3 separate regions of the Homo sapiens genome follow, and all the other regions are linked to region 3. Evidence: promoter capture Hi-C in 16 types of primary human blood cells and fetal thymus (Javierre and others, 2016). All regions are on one chromosome and are shown on one strand. The core of a region is centred on a gene start or on the middle of the fragment in contact, and the rest is flanking DNA. Distances in the headings are between cores, read along the strand shown. Region 1 has its middle 53 kb from the start of TMPRSS11E. Region 2 has its middle 20 kb from the start of TMPRSS11B. Region 3 holds the start of AMTN (amelotin).

Evidence for each region. Contacts are between HindIII fragments. The CHiCAGO score rates a contact against its expected background, and 5 or more counts as called.
Region 1: a fragment that was not itself captured here is called in contact with the fragment with the promoter of AMTN in region 3 in 1 of 17 cell types (total B cells); the score reaches 5.1 in total B cells.
Region 2: a contact is called between a fragment that was not itself captured here and the fragment with the promoter of AMTN in region 3, in 1 of 17 cell types (total B cells). The highest score is 5.7, in total B cells.

What each region holds. Positions count from the first base shown.
Region 1 is chr4:68,498,135-68,502,620 of GRCh38, reverse strand. No RefSeq gene overlaps it. Among named protein-coding and RNA genes, the nearest start is that of TMPRSS11E, 53 kb to the right of the region's middle. The HindIII fragment of the contact is 1,647 bases long and covers 2,076-3,722 here.
Region 2 is chr4:68,263,812-68,267,981 of GRCh38, reverse strand. No RefSeq gene overlaps it. Among named protein-coding and RNA genes, the nearest start is that of TMPRSS11B, 20 kb to the right of the region's middle. The HindIII fragment of the contact is 742 bases long and covers 2,464-3,205 here.
Region 3 is chr4:70,515,298-70,519,895 of GRCh38, reverse strand. It overlaps AMTN (amelotin), which reads right to left and starts at 1,327. Exons shown (of 9, transcript NM_212557.4): 1 at 1,242-1,327; 2 at 1,065-1,133. The coding sequence starts at 1,118. The HindIII fragment of the contact is 2,056 bases long and covers 356-2,411 here.

The DNA.
Region 1 (4,486 bases), core at 1,650-4,149, 2.0 Mb after region 3:
GATAGGCCATTGCTAGGCCGTGTCTCTCAATAAAAGTACTGAAATCATACGAAGTGTGTCCTTTGAACATAATGGAATTGTGTTAGAACTCTTGAGTCTGTATGACTGTGTCTTTTAGAGATTTGTTCATTTCATTTAAGTTATTATAATTTGTTGACATACCAGTGCTCCTAATATACAATTATAATTCTTTTATTTCTGTATGATTGGTAATAATGTCTTTACTATTATATCTGACTTTATTATTAAAATGTGAATCATCTCCTTTATGGGAGTTCAGTCTAGTTAAAAGATTAGTCATTTATCTGACATTTTGAAAAAGTGCAATTTTGGTTTTGCTGATTTGCTTGTTTTTTACACACTATTTTGGTTATCTCAGCAGTGATTAATTGAAATATTCAGTAGAAACCATACTTTAAGTACCATACAACCATTCTGTTTTTCACTTTTGGTACAGAAATACTTGTATTCTCATGTTTATTGTAGCATTATTCACAATAGCCAAAATATAGAATCAACCTACATGTCCATTGGTGGAAGAATAAAGAAATACACACATTGGAATATGATACAGCTTTAAAAACGAAGGGAATCGTGTCATTTGTGACAACATAGATGAATCTGGAGGATATTATGTTAAGTGAAATAAGCCAAACACAGAGTGCTGATTACTACATGATCTCACTTATATGTGGAATCTAAGAAAGCTGAACTAATAGAAGCAGAGAGTAAAATGGTGGTTGCTAGAGGCTGGAGTGTGGTAGAAATGAGAAGATATTGATTAAAAGGTACAAAGTTTCAGTTATATAGAAGAAATAAGTTCTGGAGGCCTATTTACAGCATGGAGACTACAGTTAATAATAATGTATTGAGTATTTTTAAATTGTTAAAAGTAGATATTGCTGAATAGATATTAAATGTTCTTTTAAAAAATAGTAAGTATTGAGGTAATGAATATATTAATTAGCTTGATTAAATAATTTCACAATGTATACATATATCAAAACATCAAATTTTACACTGTAACTATATACAATTTTTATTAGCCAATTATACTTTAATAAAATTGGGGGAAATTAATTAGTTTTTAAAAACAGTAAGTGGAGAGTTAAATTTTACCAGGATCATAGTAAAAAGCAAGTGTCACAGAGTGGTGGAGCAAGAGAACAAGCAGGTGAGGGGTATATGCAAGGCAGTGAGTACAGTGATTGTAAAATTTAAGCTGACTACATCTACGCCAAAGAGGTACTGATTAATGTGTTAGAGACAATTAAGAGAGAACTTCTGATTACATTTCACAGGTCTCTGTCTTTCACTCCACCTTGAGTTATATAATAAAAATTACATTAGGACAAATTATAGAATCATAGTTATAAAAAGTAAGAGCAACAAATATTTATTGATTGTGCTCCTAAACTGGAATCCATTCCACAAATACAGTAGAAGCTGATACAGATGTGTCAGAAAACTCTTAAATATAACATGTATCAGAAACTAAATTCAGGTATAAAGATTCTCCATATCAACCATGTCTTTAGTCTATGTTTGATTGTGTACCCTGTGGAAAGGTGAAAAACAGACTTTATATCAACCAACATAAGATACATGGAAGTGCCATGGTAGAGTCCATGCAGAATTACAGAAATTGAGCAGTAATACCTTCATGAAGGAAATACTGTTCATTCTTTTCTACCCAAAGCCATTTCTTCTTTTTTATTTCACGTATATTTATTTGTTTGCTTTTATTACTCTTTATTTTTATTTAATAAATCTTTATAGAACAACTGCCATAAACAATATTATAGTTTCCTGTGAACTGTGAAGGATATAAAAATGAACCAGTTAGTGTCCCCACCCTCATGGAGTTTACAGTCTAGTTGTTGAAATCACATCTGTCTGCACATGTGAAATACACAGGTAGATATTCTAAGTACAGAGAGTTTTACAAGTAGTAAGGAGCCATGTGAAAAGAATATGGCCGTTTCTTAAAAATCTAAACATGTACTTACCGTATGACCCAGCATACTCTAGGCCATAAATCTCAGAAAAATAAAACTTATGTCCACACAAAAGCTTACACACAAATCTTCATAGCAGCTTTATTTGTAATAGCCAAAACCTGAGAACAATCCAAATGCCCTTCAGTGGGTATACAGTTAACAAACTGAGGTACAGCCCTATCATGTAATACTACTCAGTAATAAAAAAAGAATTAACTACTGACACACACAACAACTTGGACAGATCTCAAGAAAATTATACTGAGCGAAAAAGCCAACCTGAAAAAGTTACATATTGTATAATATATTTATATACCATTCTTGAAACAATAAAAATTATAAAGATGGAGAGCAGATTAGTGGTTGCCAGGGATTAGAGACTAGACACAGGCCTAGGGAGGGAGCTGGATGGCTGTCGGTAGCGTGATGTAGCCTTGTGAACAAACTATCTGTATCTTGGTAATCACATGAATCTACATATGTAATTAAATTACATAGAACTAATTACACACACACCTACACACACATATATAATTGATTGCATCCTAATAAAGTTAATGGATTGTCTCAATGTCAACTTCTTCATTGTAATATTATACTACACCTAAGCAAGATCTTACTATTGAGGTAAACTGAGTAAAGGGTACACAGAATCTCTGTGAATTATATCTTACAGTTATATCTTAACCGTATCTGAATCAATGATTATCTGAAAATAAAAAAAATTAATGGTAAGGAAGTTCAGAAGAAACGTATAGTACATCCACTTGAGGAAGTAAAAAAAGGCTTCAGGGAAGAGGCGACATTTGAACTACACCATAGATCTTGATATAATCCAGCCACTCGGTGGTTAATAAAGTTTATCATTTTTTAAAATTGAAGTCAAAAGTTAGAATGAACCCTCACATTGACAGACCACTTTGATAAATATGTTTCGGAATTATCCCAGTAAAACTTTTTGTAGAATCAGAAATTTTTTTAACTAGCACATTTTGTTGGTCTAATTATCTTGTCATTTCAAAAAAAAAAGGTATTCAGCCTGTTATAATCAAATACCATATTTTTTAAAACAAGAGTGTAGTTTCATTATAGCAACAGTTATTATTACTATGGTCTCTTGAACACCTACTAATGTTCCAAGAACTGTGCTAAGCACTTTTTAAACATTCACAGTTTTATTTCCACAACAATCATTTGAGCAAATATCATCTCTATCTTACGGGTGAGATTATAGGCTTAGATAAATAGTAACCGGCTTAATTCACTCAGTGTAAAATCTGGGATTACTTTTAAAAATCAATGTGTAAATAATAATAAAGCTATGTTTTCTGCATAATGTAAAAATAAAAGAGTCATTCAACAACATTTATTGAAGGACTGTTATATACAGAGTACTTTACTAGTGCTGTAGGAAGAGAGATCGAAGATATAGAAGAGGAACTGCCTGCCCTCTTGAAAAAAGTAATAAATATTATCGTCACATCTTCTTAACTATCTCCAATGAAACAGTTAACACAGACATGCAGATAAAACCCTTTGGTAATTACTTTTCAAAAGAAGTTACCATTTTAGAAATGTATTACCTATTTCTCTATGTACATAAAGTTTGAACTATCGCTCATATTTTCACTTTGACCCAAACTTCTATTTCTCAAATCCTTTGTAGAAGGAAATATCAAAAGTATTTCTCTTAGGAATAAGATGTCATTGCAAAATTAAGCTTTTAAAATTTCTTCTTAATTTAAATTGCTCCAGGTGCTTTTGCAGAGGGAGTTCCTCAAATCATGCAACATAAATTTTATTTTAGTTTGGAATCAAATGTCCAGAAATTTGAAAAATACGAATAATGATGTAAATCAACACGAATTAATTTTTAAACGCCATTTGCAAAGAAAAACTGTATTCTTTTGGTTTCACGAGACTCTAATTTCAGGTACAGTTCTCATTATTACTTACAGATCTAGACATCCTTCTTGATGTCAGGCTTCCCCATAGCTTCCTACAGCTTGTGGGTGCCACCTAGAGGCCCAACTACAGAATACACTGAAACAAGAGGAATCCATTTTTAACAGAACACTGAGAGTAGTTTTAAAGGTACTTATATCCTTGCTTAAAATTCAAGGTTTTCCTCAATTTTGTTTTTTCCCAGAGCATTTTGCTAAATGAAACAAAAATAGCTTATGCAAAATATTTAGCACTATCAATTCATGTCAGTTTTCATATTTTTGCCAAGTGCCTAAATGTTATCAGTTCATACTCCAGTGTTATTCAGATCAATAAACTTAAATTTTTCGTGGCAATACTGGTTTTCAGGGTAATTATTGTACAATATAGAACTTATATGAGTAGCTATATGCAATGAGGACAGACTTGGTGAAATCTCACCATTAACATGCCGTACATCATGGTACCAGTCCTAACTTCATTACGGTCTGGATTACTTGAAAGCTGTGTCTCTAACAGCTCAGTAATAATTTACCAAAACT
Region 2 (4,170 bases), core at 1,585-4,084, 2.3 Mb after region 3:
TAGAGAAAGAGTTTAATACACGTAGAGCCAGCTAAATGGGAGAGCAGAATTTTCTTATTACTCAAATCAGCCTCCCCTCAAATTCAGATGCTAGGGTTTTTTACAGATACTTTGGCAGGCAGGAACTAGGAAATGGGGAATGTTGATTAGTTGGGTCCTCTTGTGCTGAGTCAGTTCCTGGGTGGAGGCCACAAGATCAGATGAGCCAGTTTACCAGTCTGGGTTGTACCAGCTGATCTATCAGAACATAGGGTCTAAAAAAATATCTTGAACACCAATGTTCGGTTTTGCAGTAGTTATGTTATTCATAGGAACAACTGGGGAGGTTGTAGCCTCTAGCTGCATGACTTCTGAGTCATAATTTCTAATCTTGTGTCTCATTTGTTAGCTTTATGAAGGCAGTCTGGTCCCCCCAGCAAGAAGGCAATTTGTTTAGGGAAGCGCTGTTATCACCTTTGCTCCAAAGTTAAATTATAAACTAAATTCCTCCCAGAGTTAGTTTGGCCTATGCCCAAGAATGAACAAAGGCAGCTTGGAGGTTATAGGCAAGATGGAGTCAGTTAGATTAGATCTCTTTCACTGTCATAATTTTCTCACCATTATAGTCTTTTCAAAGGCTGTTGGCTCTCTTTGAATACACAATACATAATACTTATTATGTGTCTGGAAATTTAGATATATCTTTTTAACTTCGTCTTCACAATTTTCTATTTTTTAAAAACGAAAAATGAGACTCTGAGAGTTTAAGTAATTTGCCCAAGGTCATATAGAATGTAAACAACCCAACTCAAATTTGCAGCCAGATTTTCAGAGTGTATCTTCTTCCACTTTACCATATTTTCTTCTTCTCTAGGAATTTAGAATAATTAAAAGAGTAGAGCAGGCAATGGCAAGGACTCTGGAGCAGATCTTCTGGGTCTGAATTTCACCTGTCACATACTAATCATGAAATGCTTGGCAGGTTATTTAACCTCTTCATGCTTCAGTTTAACAATCTATAAAATAACAGGTAATAATACCTACCTCATAGCGTTGCTGTGAGAATTGAGTTGATATATGGAAGAATCACAGGGCGTTAAGGTGCTTAAAAAGGTCTCTCTAAAAAGCTAAAATCTGAGCTAGATCTTGAAAAATGGGTAGGATTCATTGGCAGGAAAAAATAGGGTGTTTTATGAGAACTGTAAACTAAAAGTAAAATCCTAAGCCTCTCCCTTAGCCAAGGGGAGAAAAACCTTAAAAACTGAATTCCTGGCCTGGCACAGTGACTCACAGCTATAATTCCATAGGTGGATCATGAGGTCAGGAGTTCGAGACCAGCCTGGCCAACATGGTGAAACCCTGTCTCTACTAAAAATACAAAAATTAGCTGGGCATGATGGCAGATGCCTGTAATCCCAGCTACTTGGGAGGCTGAGGCAGGAGAATCACTTGAACCCGGGGGGCTGGAGGTCGCAGTGAGCCAAGATCACGCCATTGCACTCCAGCCGGGGCAACAGAGTGAAACTTCACCTCAATTCAAAACAAAACAAAACAAAACAAAAAAAAGACAAAACTGAAATCTTGGCTATGATGTGAAGGAAGGTCAGACATGCTGCCTTATACTCTCTCCCTTTTGCAGTTTAGGCATAACAGCTGACTAGCATTAATGTTAAAATAGACATCTTAAGACTGACATAACAGATACTTTGCTGCAGTAAGATAGTAAATTATAAACAAGTCCTAAGGCCATGCAAGGCAAGTGTGAAGCCTCACCCACAGGCCATCAATCTTGCCACATCCTTATCTTGCTACATCTTTATCTTGACTTAAAACATTTAAAACAATTTGTTCTGCTGACTTTAAGTTTTAGAGAGAACCTTACTCCTTTAATCAATTGCAAATTAAAGAATCTTTGAATCCACCTATAAACTGTAAGCCGCTCCCCCTTCAAGATATCCCACCATTTTGAGGTCAAACCAATGAATACCTTCCGTGTATTGATTAATATCTTTGCCTGTAACTCCTGCCTCCCTAAAATGTATGAAACCAAACTTTAACCACCTTGGGCGCACTTTCTCAGGACTTCTTGAGATTGTGTTTTCTCTGGGCTCATGGTCATTCATATTACCTCAGAATAAAACTCTTTAAAATATTTTAGAGTTTGATTTTCCTGTTAACAGAAAAATAGTAAGAACTTATAACAATAAGAAGTAAAATATAAAGTAAATGAAGGAGAAAAATGTTATCATATATCTTAGGGACATTAAATAGGAATATCATTTTTTAATGAAGTAAAGTAGGTTTTCGTTGGAGAACTAATAAATATGATAGAAAAAGCAGGTTGTAGACAGTTATGGAGAACCTTGAATGCTATCCTAATGCATTTACCCTGTGGAATATGATGAACTTTTTTTAAGTGAAAGCAAGTTTATTAAGAAAGTAAAGGAATAAAAGAATGTCTACTTCATAGACAGAGCAGAAGCTTGGGATATTAGACTAAGGATACTTACAGTTATTTATTGATTATTTGCTAAACAAGAGGTGTATTCTTCATGAGTTTTCTGAGAAAGAGGTAGGCAATACCCAGAATTGAGGTTTCCTCCCCTTTTTAGACCATATGGGGTAACTTCCTGACATTGCCATGACATTTGGAAATTGTCATGGCGTGGGTGGGAGTGTCTTTTAGCATGTCAATGCATTATAATATGTATAATGAGCAGTGAGGATGACCAGAGGTCACTCTCATTGCCATCTTGGTTTTGGTGGGTTTTGGCTGGCTTCTTTATCGCAACCTGCTTTATCAGCAAGGTCTTTATGACCTGTATCTTGGGCCAACCTCCTATCTCATTCTGTGAGTTAGAACGTCTTAACCTCCTGGGAATGCAGCCCAGTAGGTCTCTCAGCCTTATTTTACACAGCCCCTACTCAAGATGAAGTTGCTCTGGTTCAAATGTCTCTGACATATTTCCCCCCTTCCCTTTTACAAGGGAATCCTTAATACTAAGGGTTGCAGAGGGATGAAGATTCATCTTCTGTAACTTATTCATGGTGAACAGGGGCAATGATAGTCCTACCTAACTATTAAGGTCTCTTGTATTCAGGGTAGAGAGCAGCTCAGTTAGAAAACATCGGTATGTTAAGGGCCACTCATAACTCTTGAGTTCCAACAAAAGGTGATATCTGGAAAATTAATAAGTGTTCAGTTTAAGAAAACATTTGGTAAGCTTATCCTGCATTCCTACACAAAGAGTAGAACAGCAATATATTCCACAATAGTAAAGCAAAATAAGTAAAATTACCCCAACTAAATGAAATAAGAATGCTTACCATGAACTGGGCAATTGTTGAAACCAAGCTGATATGGGTTGCTAGCTGATTCCAACATGCTCAGAATTAGAATATTGATCCATATTTTTACATTATGCATCTCTCCTGTTTCTCCTGAGCAGCAGCCAGAAATCACTGGTTGGTTCACAGGAAAAAAGTAGGGTCAGTTTAAATCTCAGGAAAAAAAAAACTCCAAAACAATTTATGAGACTAGGGTCTAGTAACAGGTGTACCACAGTTTTTGAAACATGATTTTTTTCTCTCTCCAGTTTCCCATTTTTACTAAGGATAAATCATGGTAAGACTGATTTGCTTTATTATACTTGGCCTGATTATTTCTATAAATTCAGCAAAAATAATTATTTTTTTACATAGGCTTTTAAAAATTGGCTTTGATGGAAATCTGTTCCATAGAAGTAATCTCAGATAAGACTTTTAAAACCAATCCCAGCCATAGGTTTGTACCCTCAAATACCCATGAGTTGGGTAAATTCCTCTCCACTTGAGGTCCCAAGGTAATTTGGGGCTTCTGAGGCTATTAGAAAGTGACATTCTTTACTTACTGTAGGTCAGGAACCCTGTACAGGGACTGTGTAGACAATGTATAAGGCCAGTTTTCCCAAGGGCTTTTTATTGGTTCTACAAGTTAAATTTGATTCTTTAAAGGAAAGCACACCATTCTAGTCAAGGCCTTGGTAAAATAACGAGTTTCTCCAATTGTGTCCTATTGAAAAATAAAACATTGTTATTGCACTTACGCAAATAACTATATTGCCATAAGTTAAGAATACTCACACATAGTCTCCAAATTCTGGAGAAATCAGGTAGAGAGAAACAAATATGCTCCACCTTTTGTTCATGGGA
Region 3 (4,598 bases), core at 78-2,577:
GGATAAAGTAAGAAGGAGGTTGGCTACCGTATCTTGCTTCATCCTCCCCCCGCATAATCCCACCCTGTTCATTTCCTTCACATAAATAATCACAGTTATTATTTATAATTTAACATTTCTTTAAAAATCATTTGAGTAAAAAATAAAAAAATTGGCAAGTGACATTGGTAAAAATAAAAAAAAAGTTAAAAAAAAAATTAATGTCTACAATCCTTGTGAACACCATGAAGGATTATGCCTTTTTTTCCCTTCTCACTATTGTTTCTTCAGCACCTAGCACAATGTCTGGCATATAGAAAGTTTTTAATAAATATTTGTTGATTGTACGAATGGATGCAGAAGTATTGAGTAAGCTTGAGGCCCAACTAAGTATGCTTTCTTTTATTCTGTTATTTCATAGCAAGTATATTGTAATTTTTTTCTTAATGGTCTTGAACCATCTTGAACAGTCAAAGAGAAGTCCACCTAGAGATCCAAACCATTCATCCCTATGTCTACAAAATAATGGAGTAAATGTTGGAGTTATAGGGCTTTTTAATTTTTTCCTGTTATATGTGAATACTATTTATGATTTAATGTTCTAAGTCAAAAATTTTGATCATTTTAATCATATGCCTTTGATATCATATGTTTTGGTGGTCTTTTTAGAATTTATACAATCTAGATATTTAGCATTTCCAAGTAGAAAAATTAGAAAATATAGTTCACCTCTTTATTCATGAGCAAATAACTAGTTGCCAAGAAAAAACTTCTTTTTGGAAAATAAAATAATCATCCACTTAACACATTCATTTTTCTCCTAATTTCTAGCCTATTGCTCTGCCAAAATAATTGACCTTTTACCACGATGGAGTGGATGCATTTAAAAAAATGCAAGTACATTGAAATATGTACCAACAGCTTATTAGCTTGTCATTTTCTGTCTTGGAAAATAAACACTGGACACTCTCAGGGAATGAGTCACAAAACAGAGCAGTTTTGATGGAGGGCAGGAGAGAGGTAGGTCTGCAGCTAGAGATGCTGTTGAAACTGGCTGGCATATAAAACAAACATAACATACTTACTGGTAATGACCGAGTTGATCCTAGAAGACAAAACAGTAGAATCGTACTCCTCATGTTTCAGATTGCTACCTACAACAACAAAAAAGTGTTACTCTTCCATGTATTTTTTTTCCTTTTAAGAGAAAATGATACTTTAAAAACAAAAGTTCTACTTGAAACATGGTCAATTAATGTTACCTTTGGGTCCACGAGGCAAAATGTACAATACTCAAGGTCCAGTTGGTTTCTCAAGTTTACTCTGGTGAAAAATTTTACCCTTCAATGATGTATGTGTTTGTAGAAGAAATTTAAACTCAGTTCCAGGAGATTGGAAACTGAGAGACCAATCAGGATTTAGCTGTCTGTTAAATCATTTGTTTTTTTTTCATTTCCCAACACTTCATTAGGTGGGTTATTAGCTGCAGACATTATGTTACCCAATGTCTACCATTTGAATAGAAGGTGTTTCAAGGAGACAGGCCTTATGTAATTAAAAAAAGATGCAGACAATAAAATAATTTAAATGCTTCTTCACCTCCTTCTTCTTCCCAAATGATTTCTCAGATGTACGTGTTTTATCATGTAAGTATGAATACATAAATCAAACATCAAAATATAGGGCTCTGTACAAGGTTTAAAAAATGAAGTCTACTATGTAGATTGCTCTGGAACTTATGTTTACTTAACAAATAATGGACAACTTTATGTGTTAGTACATACAGGTTTATTTTATTTATTTAATGGGTACACATCATTATATCACATTTTGATGAACATTTAATCCATTTCCAGTTTATTTTGTAATTACAAAGGTATCACAAGCACCATTCTTATAAAACCTTTTTTTCACACATATGGGAGTATTTTCGTAGGTGTTATTCTTAGAAGTAATGTATCAGAGGATATGTACATTTAAGTAATGTATCAGAGGATATGTACATTTAAGTAATGTATCAGAGGGTATGTACATTTAAGTAATGTATCAGAGGGTATGTACATTTAAGTAATGTATCAGAGGATATGTACATTTATGGCCAAATGGTGAATGGCTTGCTTTATATTAAACAGGGAAAATGATACTATAACCTAAGCAAAACACAGGGAATCAACTGAGATTTCTTTTACAAGAAGAACAGTTAAGTGCTACTTAACATTTTACCATGAAGCTGTGGGCTTCACCTGGAATTTTTGAGATATGCCCCAAAGGGAGGTGGAGGTCTGTTAATCAATTTCTGAGACCATTTCAATGATGAGCCTGTGTCGCACCAGGATTTGGGATTTGACCTTTAAAAAAGAAAAACAAAAAAAACCTATAGAGTGTCTATGAATGGAAAATTAACTGAGATGATACATTTTTTTTTCAAAGCTTCTCTCTAACTGTTCAATTAATCTATATAATCAATGTTTGTTACTCTGATACTCTGTTAGGAATGGGGAACATTATGTAGGAGGAGAAATACAAGATCAACAAGTATGTGCAAATATAGGAGTATTCAGGTGTAAGAAAGAGTGTGGTGAATTTTGTTGGGGGCAAAAGGACAGGAAAAGCTTAAAAGAGGAGATCATCCTTGAGTTTGGATTTGAAGAATAAAAAAAAAATTTATGAAGAACGCAAGGAGAGCACCCAGGCTGATCAAAGGTCTAGATTTGAAGTAGTGACATTGCTTTCTGTCACTGGAACAAGATGGGGTGAGGATAGCAGTGGAAGACAGGGTTGGAGATGATATCTAATTTTAACTACCTATAGCTTTTTTTGGTTTGTTTCTATCACTGATTTTGGCACTTGGTCAGATATTACTTTATATGGCTTTTTTATTATTTCTTGACTTTTTGTTTCTCTTGAACTAGATGGAGAGTTCCTGGGGCCGCATCTTATATTTCTTGTCTTTCATGTTTGTAATATTTTAAAGCATCATATGGTCATCGAATGTTGACGAATAAATGGTAAAGGCATATACTGTGGGGAAACAGAGCAAGATTGAGTTGAGGGAAGATTTTAGAGAAGAGATTGGGCTTTAGGTGGATTTGGAGAATAAGTATAATCCACAAGACAGACTAGCATGTTAAAGTGGCTGATAGTGAGAGGAGCAATGAGACATAGTGCTGAAGGATGTGGAAGGAAAGCAACTTTAGGTTCTCATGGGCTTTCACAGGCAAATTCATTGTTTCTTTTATTCAATCAATTCATTTTTCCAGCTCTCATTTAACATAGATTCACTCTTTGTTCACCAACATTGTGTCAGTGTCTGGGATAAAACAATTAATGGAAGGGACAAAAACCCTGCCCTTAAAGAGCTTAGGTTTTGTTGGGGGAATATGAAATATTCAACCAGGTCATTGCAAGAGAGGGACTCCGTGACACTGGGCATCTACTTTATTTGGGCATTATTTTCAGTGAATGTAGAGGGTTGGGAGCGTCATATATATATATATATATATATATATATACGTATATATATATATACGTATATATATACATGTATATATATACATATATATGTATATATATACGTATATATATATATACGTATATATATATATATATATATATTTTTTTTTTTTTTTTGGGTGGAGGTAGAGTTGAATTTTATGTCACTGTTGTTCTTGGCTTAGGTGAGGAGACCTGTGTTATAGTGTTAGTCTAGAATGTGGTTCTATTCAATAGTTTATTTGAATTGAATAATTCCTCGTGACTGGGCATCAGGTGATTTAGGGACCTCACAGTGAGTCAATTGCTTGTTGCAGACATGACTCCAACCCTCAGCGGGAATCGGACATGCCCTAGCCAGGAAACTGAGCAGTCAGTGGGATTAGATCAAAATAAACAAGCAAAATTAAAAACACTGAGTAATTTCTTAGGCAAGAAATTTTAAGTCTGAAAGCAGACAACTTGCAATAATGTGATTACGGAGTTGGGAGTCAAGAAATACATATTATAAAAGGAAAAGAATTCTTAAATCATTCCAAGACAAGGAGACATCAGCAAAAACAGTGAGATAATTTATGTTTCCAAAATGACATAGAACATCAGAATTCATTAAAGTGTTTTATGAACTATAGGACACATCTCTTAGCCCTTTAGTTCCAGGCATTCCTTAATCTTTCTTATTAGCTTTAGTTGTAAGTTTCTTTGGGTTATGGACCCTTTTGAGAAGCTGATTGAATGCACATGTCATCTCCTCAGAAAAATGCATATATGCTTATGAATGTAATGATTATGAAATAACTTCAGGGATTTCATGGATCTCCTGAGAGCCCAACTATAAAGAAACAGGTTAAAAATCTCTGGGTTAGAGGAGTCTTAGTGGAATTCCTTAGTGATTTGTGTCATCCCTGTGCTTTCTAGGATTTCTCAAGGCAAGAAACATACCCTCTCTCCAACTCCATCACACTCAATGGATATAGGAAGATCTAGGATTACCCAGACCTGAGGCACTCTTTATGAATCTCAGTCTAAGAGCATCTTTTTGACAATGAAAGGATAAAACAGACTGGAAATTTTCTATATTTCCTTACACCACTTGGTAACTCACAACATTAAAAGGATTCTGCGCA